Linked DNA regions of Homo sapiens: region 2 is linked to region 1. Evidence: promoter capture Hi-C in human tissues and cell types (Jung and others, 2019). All regions are on one chromosome and are shown on one strand. Each heading gives the region's core, a stretch centred on a gene start or on the middle of the fragment in contact. The rest is flanking DNA. Distances are from core to core; before and after follow the strand shown.

Region 1 (7,061 bases), core at 1-2,500:
GCTAAGGGACCAGGCCAAGGTCACACAGCAGGGGACTGCAGAGCACACCCCGGGCCCCACACAGGCCCGCTCTTAGCCCCGCAGATAACCCAGGCCTGACCTTTCTACCCTTGTTCCCCCAAAAGCCCACCTCGTCACCCTCCTCAGGAGCCCGGGGAGTCCCGACTTACCCTCTGCCCTTGCTCCGGAGCCAAAGTGGCAAAGCTTAAATCCTCAAGCGGTTCTTAGCATCCCAGAACAAAGCTCCCACAGGGTATCTGCCTAACATTTCAGGGGTTCACGGCCCCTCTGCCCCCAGCAGAGGCTCTTGTTTTAGAAGCTGAGCCAGAACAGCCACAGGGCCCACCTCTGCCCTGCCACTTCCCAAGCACCCCGGGGGCACCAGGCCCTGTGTGCAGAGCTGGCCCCAGGACAGGCCACCTGGTGTGGTGGGAAGGGCTTTGGGGCTGGATAGTCCCTGGGTTTAAATCCCAATTGTCTAGATCCCCGACCTAAGCCTCAGTTTCCCCATCTGCAAAACAGAGAGGACAGACAGAGGGAACAGCTGGGGCAGGCTGGAGCAGTGGGTGGCTCGATGAATGCATCTGTGGTTGGTGTTTCCAGGCAAGCGGGGAGTGTGGGAGTCTCTCTCTCCCCCACCCCCACCCCCGCTACCCACCCCCAGGAGCCACCCGCCCCCGGGACGTCCTGAGAGTCCAGGGCAGAACTAGAGGTTAAAGATTTTCATGCCTCTTGGAGGAAACAGCCGTCTCTCCGGGACTCAGTAACCAAGAAGAAGCCTTTGGAAGCTCCAGACTCCAAATTCCCTCCGACATGCTCAGGGGCCAAGGGCAAACCTTAGGTCCCCCGAAATCCCTCTTCCAAGTCTCCTAAGGTGGGCTGCAAGGCTCCGGGCCTTTGGTTCCCTGGCTTGGGGTCTCAGGGAACCGAACCGCCCTCCCCCCAGACCTGCTACCCCAGGCCCCACGTTGGTGCCCATTTCACAGGTGATAAAACCGAGACCCAAAGAGCCGGTGTCCGGCCCAAGGGCACTTAGCTGAGAGGCTGGCGCCTGCGGAACCTGGTGCCTTCCGTCTCCCGCGCCCCTGGCCCGCATTTTGGAGCCTCGGGACCCCCCGGAGCCGGACGGGCCACGGAGATGTCCCCAGGGGCGCGAGGGGACCTCGGCTGAGCCGCCCCTCCCGGGCCCGGGCCCCACTTACCTCCGGGACGGCTGGGCGCCGGCGGCCGGGAGATCCGCGCTTCCTGAATCCCGGCCGGCCCGCCCGGCGCCCGTCCGCCCGCGGGTCCCTCCTCCGCCGGCTCAGGTTCCAGCCGCGCGCCGCCCCCGGCCAGCTCCCCGCCCACCCGCCGGCTCGCGGACCCCGCCGAGCGCAGGCCCTAGAAGGGGCGGCCCCTACTCGCACCCCGCCCGCCCAGCGAGGGCCTCCCCTGCGGGGGAGGTGCAGGGCCAGGGCCTCAGTTTCCTCGCCTGGAAAATGGGTGTCGCGATCCCCGGATAGAGCGGCAGACGGTCTTTGGAGAGGGCTCTAGTTGGAATCGGCTCCGATTCGATCTTGCTCCGTGACTTCGGGCCGCCCTGGGACTGTGTCCTAGTCTCTAAATGGGCGTCCCGGCCCAGTCCTCCACGTGTTTGCTCATTCATTCATTCAGCAGACAATTTCCTCCGAGGCGTTGAAGGAGGTCCCTACCCTCGGGTATGGCCCATAGAGATGGTTCAGGGGTAAATAAATGTGAGCTGCTCTCCTTGGTCTTCACCCAGTGCTTACTGCGAAGCCTGCCTCGGAGTAGGCCATCAATGTTTTGTTGCTGTTGTTTTTGAGACAGGGTCTCACTCTGTTGCCCAGGCTGGAGTGCGGTGGCGTGATCAGGAATCACTGCAGCCTCAACCACCAGCGTTCAAGCAATCCTCCCGTATCAGCCTCCCTAGTAACTGAGACCACAGACGCCTACCACCATGCTTGGCTAATTTTATTTAAATTTTTTGCAGAGATAGGGTCTCACTATGTTGCCTAGGCTGGTCTCAAACTCCAGGCTCAAGCGATCTACCCACCTCGGCCTCCCAAAGTGCTGGGATTAGAGGTCTGAGTCACCGTGCCTGGCTCAATGCGTTTTTGTTTATTTTTTTTATTATTATTATTATTTTTGATACATGTTCTCCCTTTGTCACCCAGGTTGAAGTGCAGTGGCATGATCACGGCTCACTACAGCCTCAAACTCCTGGCCTCAAGAGATCCTCCCACCTCAGCCTCCTGAGCAGCTGGGAGTACAGGCATGCGCCACCACACCCCACTAATTTTTATTTTTTTGTAGAAGGGGGGGTGGGGGAGGGCAGCCGGTCTACAACTCCTGGCCTCAAGTGATCCTCCCACTTCAGTCTCCCAAAGCACTGAGAGTATAGGCATGAGCCACCACACCTACCCATGTATTTTCTTTTATCAGATAACAAAGGTGGGCCCCAACACATAGCCATACCCTCTACCCAGCACTGAGTCCACTTGAATACCTCCACAGGATGGGCAGCTCACTTCCTCCAGGGTGGTTGGAAAGCCTAGCAGGCCCACAGCTTGGCTCTGTGACTCTCTAACCCAGCAGCCCTATGCAAGTCCCTTCACCTTTGTGCCTCAGTGCCTCTACATCCCCCTGTAGAGTGGGGCATACAAAAGTCCTCACCTCACAGTCGCAGTGAAGATGCTGGGAGCATCCAGGCTGTGCAGAGCCCTTTTTTTTTTTTTTTTGAGACAGAGTCTTACTCTGTCGCCCAGGCTGGAGTTCAGGGGTGTGATCTCAGCTCACTGCAACCTCTGCCTCCTGAGTTCAAGCGATTCTCCTGCCTCAGCCTCCTGGGGGCTGGGATTACAGGCATGCGCCACCACGCCAGGCTAATTTTTTGTATTTTTAGTAGAGACAGGGTTTCACCATGTTGGCCAGGCTGGTCTTGAACCCCTGACCTCAGTTGATCCACCCACTTTGGCCTCCCAAAGTGCTGGGATTACAGGTGTGAGCCGCCGTGCCCGGCCCAGAGCCATGCCATTTTCATCATTAGTGTTTTCACTAAATTGAGCTGACTCAGGGACTGTGGGGTAGCTCCTTCCTCCTCAGCTTGAAAATAGCAGCATCTCTCCTGAGGTCCAACAGCTGGAAAGTGAAATTTTAGAATTGCTGGGTGGGGAGGCGAAAGAGAGAGAGAGAGAGTGTGTGTGTGTGTGTACCCCTGAATAGGAGTGATGTGTTCACCTCCAGCGTGAAACATTTACAAAGAAACAAACCCTAATAATTAACTCACTGAGCACAGAAGCCTAGGGGATGAGAGGGAGAACAGGCTGTGAGGTAGGGTTTGCTCTACCCATTTTGCAAGTGGGAAACTGAGGCTTGGAGAGGAGTATGGCCTCTCCAAAAGCTGCTCCCTCCATGGTGGGGGTTGGGGTGGGAAAGAGAACCCTCTGAGGGTCCGGAGTAAACAGGCAGATGTCTGGCAGTGGAGAGGAAGGTAAACACAGGGCCCCTCACACCTCCCTGACAGACAGCTATCTGCTGGGGGCCCTCAGGGCTGGGGCTGGGGCTGGGCCAGGTTGAGAGTGGAGGAGTGAGTCTGGGACCCATTTCTGCAGAAAGGCCTGTCTCAATTTAAAGAAAATGGCAAGGGTGATTCCAGCCATAAGGCAGCTGATGTTGGGGACTGGAACTGGGGGAGATGGGGCCAGGGATGGCGACCTCCTCTTCTCTAAGCTCAGAGGGAAGGGGCCTGAGCGCTCAGCATCATCATCACTAACCCAGCTCTTTCCTGATCCCCATTTCACAGATGGGGCAACTGAGGCCCCCATGTAGGGAAGTGACTCATCTTGGGCTAAGCAGCTGGAGCTTGGCCTCTGCACCAGACACTGGGGTTCAAATCCTGCCCTGCCGCTGATGGGAGAAGGAGCTGTGGTGGGAGCTGTGGGCAAGAGCCTCCCTCTCTCTCTGTGCCTCAGTTTCCTCACCTAAAAAATGGGTACCAGTGTCCATGAAGCAAGGGAACGTGTTCATGACCACAGGTCTAGCACCTGGCACTTAGTAGGTGCTTTAAAAATACTGGTTGATGGGTCAGGCGAAGTGGCTCATGCCTGTAATCCCAGCACTTTGGGAGGCTGAAGTGGGCAGATCAACTGAGGTCAGGAGTTCGAGACCAGCCTGGCCAACATGATGAAACCCCGTCTCCACTAAAAATACAAAAATTAGTTGGGCATGGTGGTGGGCACCTGTAATCCCAGCTACCTGGGAGGCTGAGACAGAATTGCTTGAACCTGGGAGAGGGAGGTTGCAGTGAGCAGAGATCGTGCCACTGCACTCCAGCCTGGGCAACAGAGAGCGACTCCATCTCAAAAAAAAAAAAAGTCCTGGTTGATGGAGCTGGGGGAGAGGAGAATGGGAGGTTGCTGTTTGTTGGGCGTAGGGTTTCAGTTTTGCAAGATGCAAAGAGTTCTGGAGATGAACGAGGGTCACACAACAATATGAATATACTTTTTAAGTTTAATTTTTAATCTTTTTTTTTTTATTTTTAGAGAGAGACAGGGTATTGCTCTGTAGCCCAGGCTGTAGTGCAGTTGCCTGCTCATAGCTCACTGCAGCCTCAAATTCCTAGGTTCAAGCGATCCTCCTGCCTCAGCCTCCTGAATAGCTGGGACTATAGGTGTGTGTCACCAAGCCTGGCTTTTTAAATTTTATTTTTTGTACAGGTGAGGTCTCGCTATGCTGCCCAAGCTGGTCTCAAACTCCCGTGCTCAAGTGATCCTCATAACCTGGCCTCTCAAAACATTGGGATTACAGGCATGAGCCACTGTGCCTAGCCAGAAATAATGTTTCCTCTTAGGGAAGGAAAAACTTTCAAGGCCCTCAGCATTGGCTGTGAGTCATGTGGCAGCCACATGTGGGGCGCAGCCTTGCTCTCCACGTAGCTCCTGGACTGCCCCAGGTGGACTCAGCTACCTCCCCTAAGAAAGGTTCCTGGGCAGCAGCCAAGGGTCTGCATTTACCAAGTGCTTACTGTATGCCAGGTCCAGTGCCAGATGCTGGGGAGAGATTGGTGAGCCAGACAGGTCAGGATCTCAGGGACTTTATACCCAGGGTACCCAGTTATAAAAACAAGACACGTGCACCTCACTTTACAGTTGGCACAGTCCTGATCCTGCCACTAACTCAGTTCATCTTTTGACAGCCTGGAAAGGAGGAATTCTTCCACCATTTTATAGATAATGACACAAAGAGGCCACTTGTCTGAGATCATCCCACAACTGGTAAGATTTGAACCCAAGCCCAGCAGACTCTACAGTGTAGCATGACCAGCAGGAATATTTTCCTGGCCAGGTGCGGCGGCACACACCTGTAATCATAGCATTTGGGGAGGCTAAGGCAGGAGAATCACTTGAGCCCTGGAGGTCAAGGCTGCAGTGAGCTGTGTTCAGGCAGCTACACTCCAGCCTGAGCAACAAAGTGAGACCCTGTCTAGGAAAAAAAGAAAAAAAGAATATGATCTCAAAAAGACAGACCATAAGTGTGGATGAGGAAGTGGAGAAGCTGGAATCTTCGCACACTGCTGGTGGGAATGTGTAATGGAGTGGCTGCTATGGAAAACGGTCTGGCAGTTCCTCCAAATATTAAATCTAGAGTTACTGCCAGGCACGGTGGCTCCCGCCTGTAATCCCAACACTTTGGGAGGTCAAGGCGGAAGGATCACTTGAGGCCAGGAGTTTGAGACCAGCCTGGCCAACACGGTGAAACCTCATCTCTAATTAAAAAAAAAAATACAAAAATTAGCCGGGCATGATGGTGGGCACCTGCAATCCCAACTACTCAGGAGGTTGAGGCACAAGAATTGCTTAAGCCCAGGAGGCAGAGGCTGCAGTGAGCTGAGATTGTGCCACTGCACTCCAGCCTGGGCAACAGAGTGAGATCCTGTCTCAAAAAAAAAAAAAAAATCTGGAGTTCCCATATGACCCAGCAATTCCACCCCAGAAATATAGCCAAGAGAAATGAGAACTTACGTCCATAGAAAAACTTGAATGTTCATAGCAGCATTATTCATAATAGCCAAAAAAAGAAAACAACTCAAATTCTCAATGGATAAACAAACACAGTATATCCACACAAAGGAATACTATTTGGCAATAAAATGAATGGTTACTGAGTCATGCAACAACATGGATGAACCTTGGAAGCAGGATGCTGAGTGGCCAGACACAAAAGGCCGCATATTACATAATTCCATTTATATGAAATGGCCAGAAGAGGCAAATCTATAGAAACAGAAAAGAGCTGAGTGGTCGTCAGGGGCTGGGGGGAAGGGAGGATTTGGGGGGCCAAGGGTAATAGCTAAAGGGTATGGGTTTTCTTTTTCTTTTTCTGTCGCACAGGCTGGAGGGCAGCAGTGCAACCACAGCTCACTGCACCCTCTAACTTCTGGGTTCAAACCATGCTCTCACCTCAACCTCCTGAGTAGCTGGGACTGCAGGCGCATACCACCACACCCAACCAAATAGGATGATGCAAATATTCTAAAATTGACTGGTGATGGTTGCTCATATGTATGACTATACTAAAAACCACTGAAGGCCAGGCACAGTGGCTCATGCCTGTAATCCCAGCACTTTGGGAGGCCAAGGTGGGAGGATCACGAGGTCAGGAGTTCCAGACCAGCCTGGCCAACATGGTGAAACCCCATCTCTACTAAAAATATAAAAATTAGTCGGGCGTGGTAATGAGCGCCTGTAATCCCAGCTACTCCGGAGGCTGAGGCAGGAGAATCGCTTGAACCTGGGAGGCAGAGGTTGCAGCGAGCTAAGATCGCATTGTTGCACTCCAGCCTGGGCAACAGAATGAGACTCAAAAAAATTTAAAAATTAAATTAATAAATAAAATAAAAACCATTGAAGAGTACACTTTAAGTGGATGAATTGTATGGTATATGACTATCTTAATAAAGCTGCTGTGAAATTTTCTTTTTAAAAAAAGAAGAAGACAGCCAGGTACAGTGGCTCATGCCTGTCATCCCAGCACTTTGGGAGGCTGAGGCAAGAGAAACGCTT
Region 2 (7,061 bases), core at 1,637-4,136, 350 kb before region 1:
TTTTTGAGATGAAGTCTCTCTCTGTCGCCAGGCTGGTGTGCAGTGGCGCAGTCTTGGCTCACTGCCAGTCTTCACCTCCCGGGTTCAAGCAGTTCTCCGGCCTCAGCCTCCCTAGTATCTGGAACTATAGGCTCGTGCCACCACGCCCAGCTAATTTTTGTATTTTTAGTAGAGATGGGGTTTCACCATGTTGGCCAGGATAGTCTCGATCTCTTAGCCTTGTGATCTGCCCGCCTCAGCCTCCCAGAGTGCTGGGATTACAGGCGTGAGCCACTGTACCCAGCCTCTGATTTTTTTTTTTTTTTTTTAAAGAGATGCCAAAGATCTGAGTTTTTATGCTCAATGTTCGTTCATTCATTCTTTCATATTCTGAGACAGGGTCTCACTGTCGCCCAGGCTGGAGTGCAGTAGCACTATCACAGCTCACTATAGTCTTGACCTCCCAAGTCTCAAACGATTCTTCTGCCTCAGCCTCCTCAGTAGCTGGGACTGCAGGTGTGTGCCACCATGCACAGCAAGTTTTTGTATTTTTTGTAGAGATAGGGTTTTACCTTATTGCCCAGGCTTGTCTCAAACTCCTGGGCTCAAGTGATCCACCTGCCTCAGCATCCCAAAGTGCTGGGATTACAGGCGTGAGCTACCATCAATGTTCTAATTTGTAAATCTTGGCAATTAATTTGAAATTTTTTAAATATCCTGCAAATCATACAAAAGGTGCCAGTTTGCACCTTAGGGATTAGAATGATCAGCCTGAAAAGTGTAATCCCAGAAAAGCAGCTAGTTATCTGTAATAGTACTAACAATGCCACTGAGGCATGTCTCCAAGTTACCAGCTGTTAGGCTGTTAGGCATTCCTATTGCTAAGCTTCACATTGTGCCAACCCTCTCTAGGCACTGGGCCCTTGGGAGGAAACAGGACGGGCAAGATCTCTACGCTCATGGAGCTCATAGCCCAGCAAGAGAGGGAGGACTATGCAGGCAGTGAACACATGATTACGTAGATGAGGACAGATAAGCTGGAGGAGGTGAACCTCATCTTACAGAGAAGGAAACTGCAGCTCAGGGTGGTAGGGCAGCTTGCCCAATATCACATGGTTTAAGGGCGGATCCAGGATTGGTATAGCCAAAATGGAACCTGTTTTCTAGTTTCCACTTTTCTTCCTTTTGCATTACAGGATAAAAGTGATGATACAGCAGCCTTTGGCTACTGGCTGTGAGGCAAAAGTCAGTATCCATGGTGCTTAAGAAAAGGTAAACTGGAGAGCACAGTTGAGGAGACAGCAGCAGGCCTGCAGGAATCCAAATCCAGTTTGCCAGATTGATACTGTTTTTTGAAAGAAGCCTCAATTTGGGTTTTTATGTGAAGTATACCAGTTTCTAAAACATTTCTATAGGGTTCCTCCAGCTCTTGGGCCACCAGTTGGAGAACCCTTTAGTCTTTATGATCTTCAGTGTCCTCATCTGTAGGAAGGAACTGCATGTGATTATGTGTGAATCACCTGGCATAATACCTGCACGTGCCAGGTACCCGCTGAAGGCTTGTTTTCTTTGTTTTCACTTTTTGATGGATTGTGGGAATGTATAACCCCCAGTGTGTCTCTTTGCAGAGATTTGAGAAGTTGTGTCGCAGCATCCTGAGCAGCATGGATGCTGAGAATGAGCCTAAGGTAAGTGGACGGGAGCCGCAGTGTCTCCCACAAGCTCTTAAGGGCCAACCTACTGGGCTCTGAAAGTTCCTGTTGAATATTAGGACCAATTCACACACAAATGCAAATAAGTAGTGGATGGAAAACATTACCAAAGTACAAATGATTCCTTAGTTTCTTCATGATCCAGGTAGCTACGTTCTGCTCTTGCCACAACACAGGATAGTAAATTTTCTTACTAGGCTATTTTGTCTTTGCGTTTAGTGTTAAAATAAGTCCTGTTTACAGCTTATTTGTCCATTCAGGTCCACTGCTTTATCTGGCACTGGACCTAACTAATAGGTCCAGTTCCAACAGTTAGAGCACAAGTGATATGATCTCTATAACAGCCCATGACATTCCTCTTTTTCCCACCTATAGGTGTGGTATGTGTCCCTGGCTTGTTCTAAGGACCTCACCCTCCTTTGGATTCAACAGATCAAGAACATTTTGTGGTACTGCTGTGATTTTCTCAAGCAGCTCAAGGTAACAAAAAAAAAAAAAAAAAAAAAAAGCAAAACCAGAAACAGTACGTATGTCATTTTCACCTGTAGACTTTAGTCTGTATTTTCAGAGTCACTATCAACGAGAGTTGCTAGTTGAGCCACTGTTCTGGAAGAGAGGAATTTTGATTCTGTTATCAATATGAGCCCTCCTTTGGTGTGTGTTGGACCCTTAAACTGCTTGCCACGCCACAGCCTCCATGGCAGGGAATCTGTCACTTTCCTTCCCATTCATTTAATGTAATCAGTACTTTATGATCTACATTATTATACTAGTCAGGCCTCTTGTTAAAAGTACAGAAGCCGAACGTGAGCACAGCTAGTATCACGTACCAGTTAAGCAAGGAAGAGAACGTTGTGCTCTAGAATATATTCAGTAACGTGGCAGCTAGAGTAAGGAGAGCTAGGGGGTTCTGATTCTCCCTCTCATTCTTTTCTCTCATCCCTGCTCCCTTTTGGGGTCACCTCGTCCTTTCCTGCTGTAATCATGGCAACGAGCAGTTTTGACTTTATATTCTTACTCTGTCTTGACTAAAGGGAGGAGAGGCCTCCCGACCAGTTCAAAAATCCAGGTTTCTTGTAGGTCCAGTGAATCCTGGGTTCATCTCTGAACCAGTCACAGTGGCAAGAGGAATGGGGTACTGCCACTAGCCCAGCCTGGTCCTGTGTTCCCCTACCCCCTTCAGTGTTCTGAAAAGGATGGACAGGGGTGTGAGCAGACATACACAGGAGCCACTTCCACTTTGCTTATAAGGATAGAGAGGTCTCAGGGACAGAGGCTTGGCAAGGACACAGATAGCAGCTCAGTAATGGAACGAAAGTCCCCAGACCGCCCCCAACCCCAGTAATAATCCATTCCCAGCCATCCCTCTTTGGCTGCTCAGGAATGGCTCTTGCCATGCCTGGCTTGTCAGGTGAGACATGGCTCAGCGCAGGGTTTCCACACTATGTTCCTCGGAGCCCTGGGAGTCCACCAGAATGCCTTAGGGCCAAGTGAGCAGGGTATTTCCCTACCTGCACGCGAGCCAGGCAGATCCTTGTTTATCTGCTCTCTATGTGTACATTCCACAACAGATTGCTCTTTGAGGAGAAGCTCTTCTATTTTGGACAAACAAAAAAAGTTTATGCAAAGAAACAGACGTCAGGAGAAAAAGGGCCCTGACTCTGGAGCCAGGAATATGTGAAATTCAGTCCTGATTCTGCTGTTCATTTCCCACGTGGCCTTGAACAAGCTGCTTCCCCTCTCTTACTGTCGATGAGCTTTGAGGTTTGAACTCAGTGGTCTCCAAGGTTGTCTCCAAGGTCCCTTCCAGGTGGACCTGCTATAGGGTCTGTGGGCCTAGAAAGCAGTCAGGCCTTTTGCTTGACTTACACTTGGTGAAACAATGAACTGTCATCAAAATTAGAACAGCAGCCAACATTACATGGAGTTATCTATGTGCCAGACACTGTTCTTAGTGCATCATACGCATTAATCCATTTATTTCTCACAACAACCCTATGAGGAAAGCAGTGTTACTATTTCTGGTCAACAGATGAGGAAACCGAGGCACAGAAAGGTTAAGAAACTTGCCTAAGCTCACACAGCTAGTAAGTGGTGAAGTCAGAAGGCTGAGCCCAGAGTCCTAGTCATGCTCAATTGCATTTCTGCTCTGTTGCTGCAGAGTTCAGACAGACAGGCAGGCACATGTACATACAGCAAGCCAGCCCTGGTCATCTTGTTTTCTAGGGATTCTCAATTCTCCATTCCCAAGAATAATGGAATCCCATGATTCCATTATCAGGCACTAGAGTGCCACATTCCCTGTTATTTAACTCCTGGAGTGGTCATTGCCCAAGAGAAAAAGAATTAAGACTGACTTATAATCCTGACTCAGTGATTCCAGGCTGAGTGCCCATAGAGCAGTTGTAAAGTGAACACTTCACTGTCTGGAATCAGAAGACGTGTGTCTTAATCTTGCTGTGTTTATTGTTTCCAGCCTGAAATCCTGCAGGACTCCCGACTCATCACCCTGTACCTCACGATGCTTGTCACCTTCACAGACACTTCAACGTGGAAAATTCTTCGGGGAAAAGGTCTGTGGGACTTGCTTCAAAATGTTCTCTAACCAACATTTCCATAGAGAGCTCAGGGACCTTTTTTCCTTTGTAAGAAGCATTTTTGCCACAAGCCTCAGGGAAGGCCCTGAGACCATACAAATGAGGATGCCCTTGGTGCTGACCATCAGACTGCATCGCAGTATCCACAATCCATTCAGCATTGTGTGTTGTACTCAACCCTTCTTTGAATTTACATTTAAAGTCATGGTTCTTCTGATTTTAATTTTTATAGTTCCCACAGTGCCTTAGCCTCCAAGTGATTACATTCACTTAAGCCTTGTCATTTTACTTGGAAAATCATTAGGTTGTGAATAATTCTATTTTGCCCATAAAATTTGCATTATAAACTTCTTCCTTCCCTGGTAAGTGTCGTTAGTGCCGTGTGTTTCATATGGTCATTTCATTCATCTGTTCAACAAGTAGCCCATACATGCCAGATGCCTCTAGGCGCTGAAGACAGATAAGCAAAACAGAAAGGGGCATTGCCCTCCAGGGACTTTAGGTGCTCCCTTCCTCACAGAACTTAAAGTCCGATGAGGAAAACAGGCATTAAATAGATGTCGCTCATAGATATAAAATGACAATAATGTGGTAAGTGCTTGGAAGGAAGCATGCAAGAGAAATGAGAGTGTCCAGTAGGGTGGGGAGGCCTTGCTTGGTCTGGGTCTCTAGCTTTCCTGAAGAAGTGGTGTGTGAGCTGAGAGCTGCAGAGGGAGCTAGGATTCACAGAGTGAAGAGCGGGGATGAAACGGAAAGCAGGGAAAGCTGTATGCAAGGCTCCAGGTCAGCAAGGAGGGCTTATTTCAGGCATGACCCTGGCCTCTTGGGGGGAACCCAAAAATTGTTCAGTTCTGGGCCCTGCTGGGAAGCTCATGTCCCATTGAGGAGAGTAGGCATCCCCCTGGCGAAGGCAGTGCTAGGCCCTAGGAGGGAATTAGAAAAGGTGCTACAGGCGCTCAGAGGCCAGAGACGTCACTTCTGGCTAGGGGTGTGAGAGGACCCATCACTCAAGAGGTGACACTTGAGCCAGGCCTACCAGGAGAGAGAGAGTTCCAGGTACGCATTGCCTTTCTGTGCTCTGGCACCAGGCCTAAGGGAAAAGGGAGGCAAGCCAGGGGGTATCTCATTTCTTAGGGCCTCGGATGTGGGACACAATTTCCTGTCCCACATAAACAGGTCACATTATGGCAAGAGACTTTTTTGTTCTCACTGTTTTCTTTCTTTAGGTGAAAGTCTTCGACCAGCGATGAACCACATTTGTGCAAATATAATGGGACATCTCAACCAGCATGGATTTTATTCTGTGCTGCAGGTCTGTGACTCCTGCCCCCCAGTGTGCAACTTCTCCACTCTCCAACACCTGCACTTGGATTTTTACATTTGCATTCAGCATACCTGGTGTCCTCCTCAGAAACACTTTTCATAGGAAGAGCTTGATGCCTGCTGTCCTCTTCTTCCTTCCCCTGCCTTGTCTCACTTGTGGGTCAGGTAAAGGGAGGACAGTGGTGCTGGGATCCCTTGAATGCTCTACATTTTTGGCTGCAAGGGTAATCCAGTCTTTTGACATTTAAACTCTGGAAGGAGACCTCAGGGCTTGTTCCCTCAGATTCCTTCTTGGTTGATGTCTAGAATCATATTTCTAGCTCTGTGTCCTCAAACAGCCCTTTCCACTTTGTACCTTGTTGTGCCAGATCATACCTCTAGGGAATTGTTGAGAAAGCCTGATTGCTGTTTAAAGGTACAATGGAAGTCTTGAGTTTGAGAAGTAATGTTGACTTTGCCCTTCCTTCTCCCTAGTGCTGTGATGGGCTGTTTCCTGATTTGGTTTCATATGCTCCTCACAACAACCCTGTGAGGTGGTCCGTTGGCAGAAGCTGGTATGACTGGCAGTTGTCTCGCTAGAGGAACCTTCTACTTCATACCATAATTAAACGGCTTCTAAAATAATATGATGTCTTTAAATTTTAAGTCTGGCATTATTTGTATTAGCTGTTTTTTTAACTTTATTATTAAAGAATTTCTAACCATAATATTTAGAGAAAGAGTGGTAGAGTTAACCTCGTTACCCAATACTTTCTTCCCTTTCCTTTTATAAAAACACTGCATACGGTTTTTTGTTTTTTTGTTTTTTTGTTTTTTTTTTAAGAGACAGGGTTGCCCTGTCACCCAGGCTGGCCTCAAGGAATCTTCCTGCCTCAGCCTCCTGAGCTGGGACTGTAGGTACAAGCCACCATGCCTGGCTCACAATACAGTTTTTTTATCTGAAGCACTCAGTTTACTTTTTTGCTCTTTTATGTACAAATGAATATAAAGTTGATATCATCCTCTGACCAATTAAAACATTCTTTTCAGATATTGTTAACCCGTGGCCTGGCAAGACCCCGTCCTTGTCTATCCAAAGGCACTTTAACAGCAGCTTTTTCTCTAGCGTTACGGTGAGTAAGAAACCATAGCTGAGGTGTTGGCATGTTCTTGAATGCTTCCTCCTCTTGGTTTTTCTTTCTCTCGTTACTGGTATTAGGTATAGACTTGCCCATTTTGTCAGAATTTATGGGAAGCATTGTTCTTAATGAAAGTGAGCACATTTGTGACTGCTCAAACTTTTTCTTAATCTTCAGTCTTGAATATTTCTTAATCTTCAGCCCTGAATATTATTGCAGTGTGATCTTTGGAAACTATTCAAAATGAATTTCTTTTATCTAAAAGAGGCCAAGATGCAATCATTTTTCCTTTTGAAGTTTTAATTGACAAAACAAAAAACCTAGGAGCCAGG

What was found. Contacts are between HindIII fragments. The study calls those that stand out against the background at their distance.
Region 2: a contact is called between a fragment that was not itself captured here and the fragment with the promoter of TRPV4 in region 1, in 1 of the 25 tissues and cell types used here (stomach).

The regions. Positions count from the first base shown.
Region 1 is chr12:109,832,148-109,839,208 of GRCh38, forward strand. It overlaps TRPV4 (transient receptor potential cation channel subfamily V member 4), which reads right to left and starts at 1,251. Exons shown (of 16, transcript NM_021625.5): 1 at 1,203-1,251. MIR4497 (microRNA 4497) reads left to right here and starts at 1,201; the gene lies at 1,201-1,289. The HindIII fragment of the contact is 21,611 bases long and covers 1-7,061 here.
Region 2 is chr12:109,484,405-109,491,465 of GRCh38, forward strand. It overlaps UBE3B (ubiquitin protein ligase E3B), which reads left to right. Exons shown (of 28, transcript NM_130466.4): 5 at 1,608-1,667; 6 at 2,067-2,171; 7 at 4,168-4,264; 8 at 5,515-5,600; 9 at 6,641-6,723. Among named protein-coding and RNA genes, the nearest start is that of UBE3B, 10 kb to the left of the region's middle. The HindIII fragment of the contact is 7,663 bases long and covers 1-6,718 here.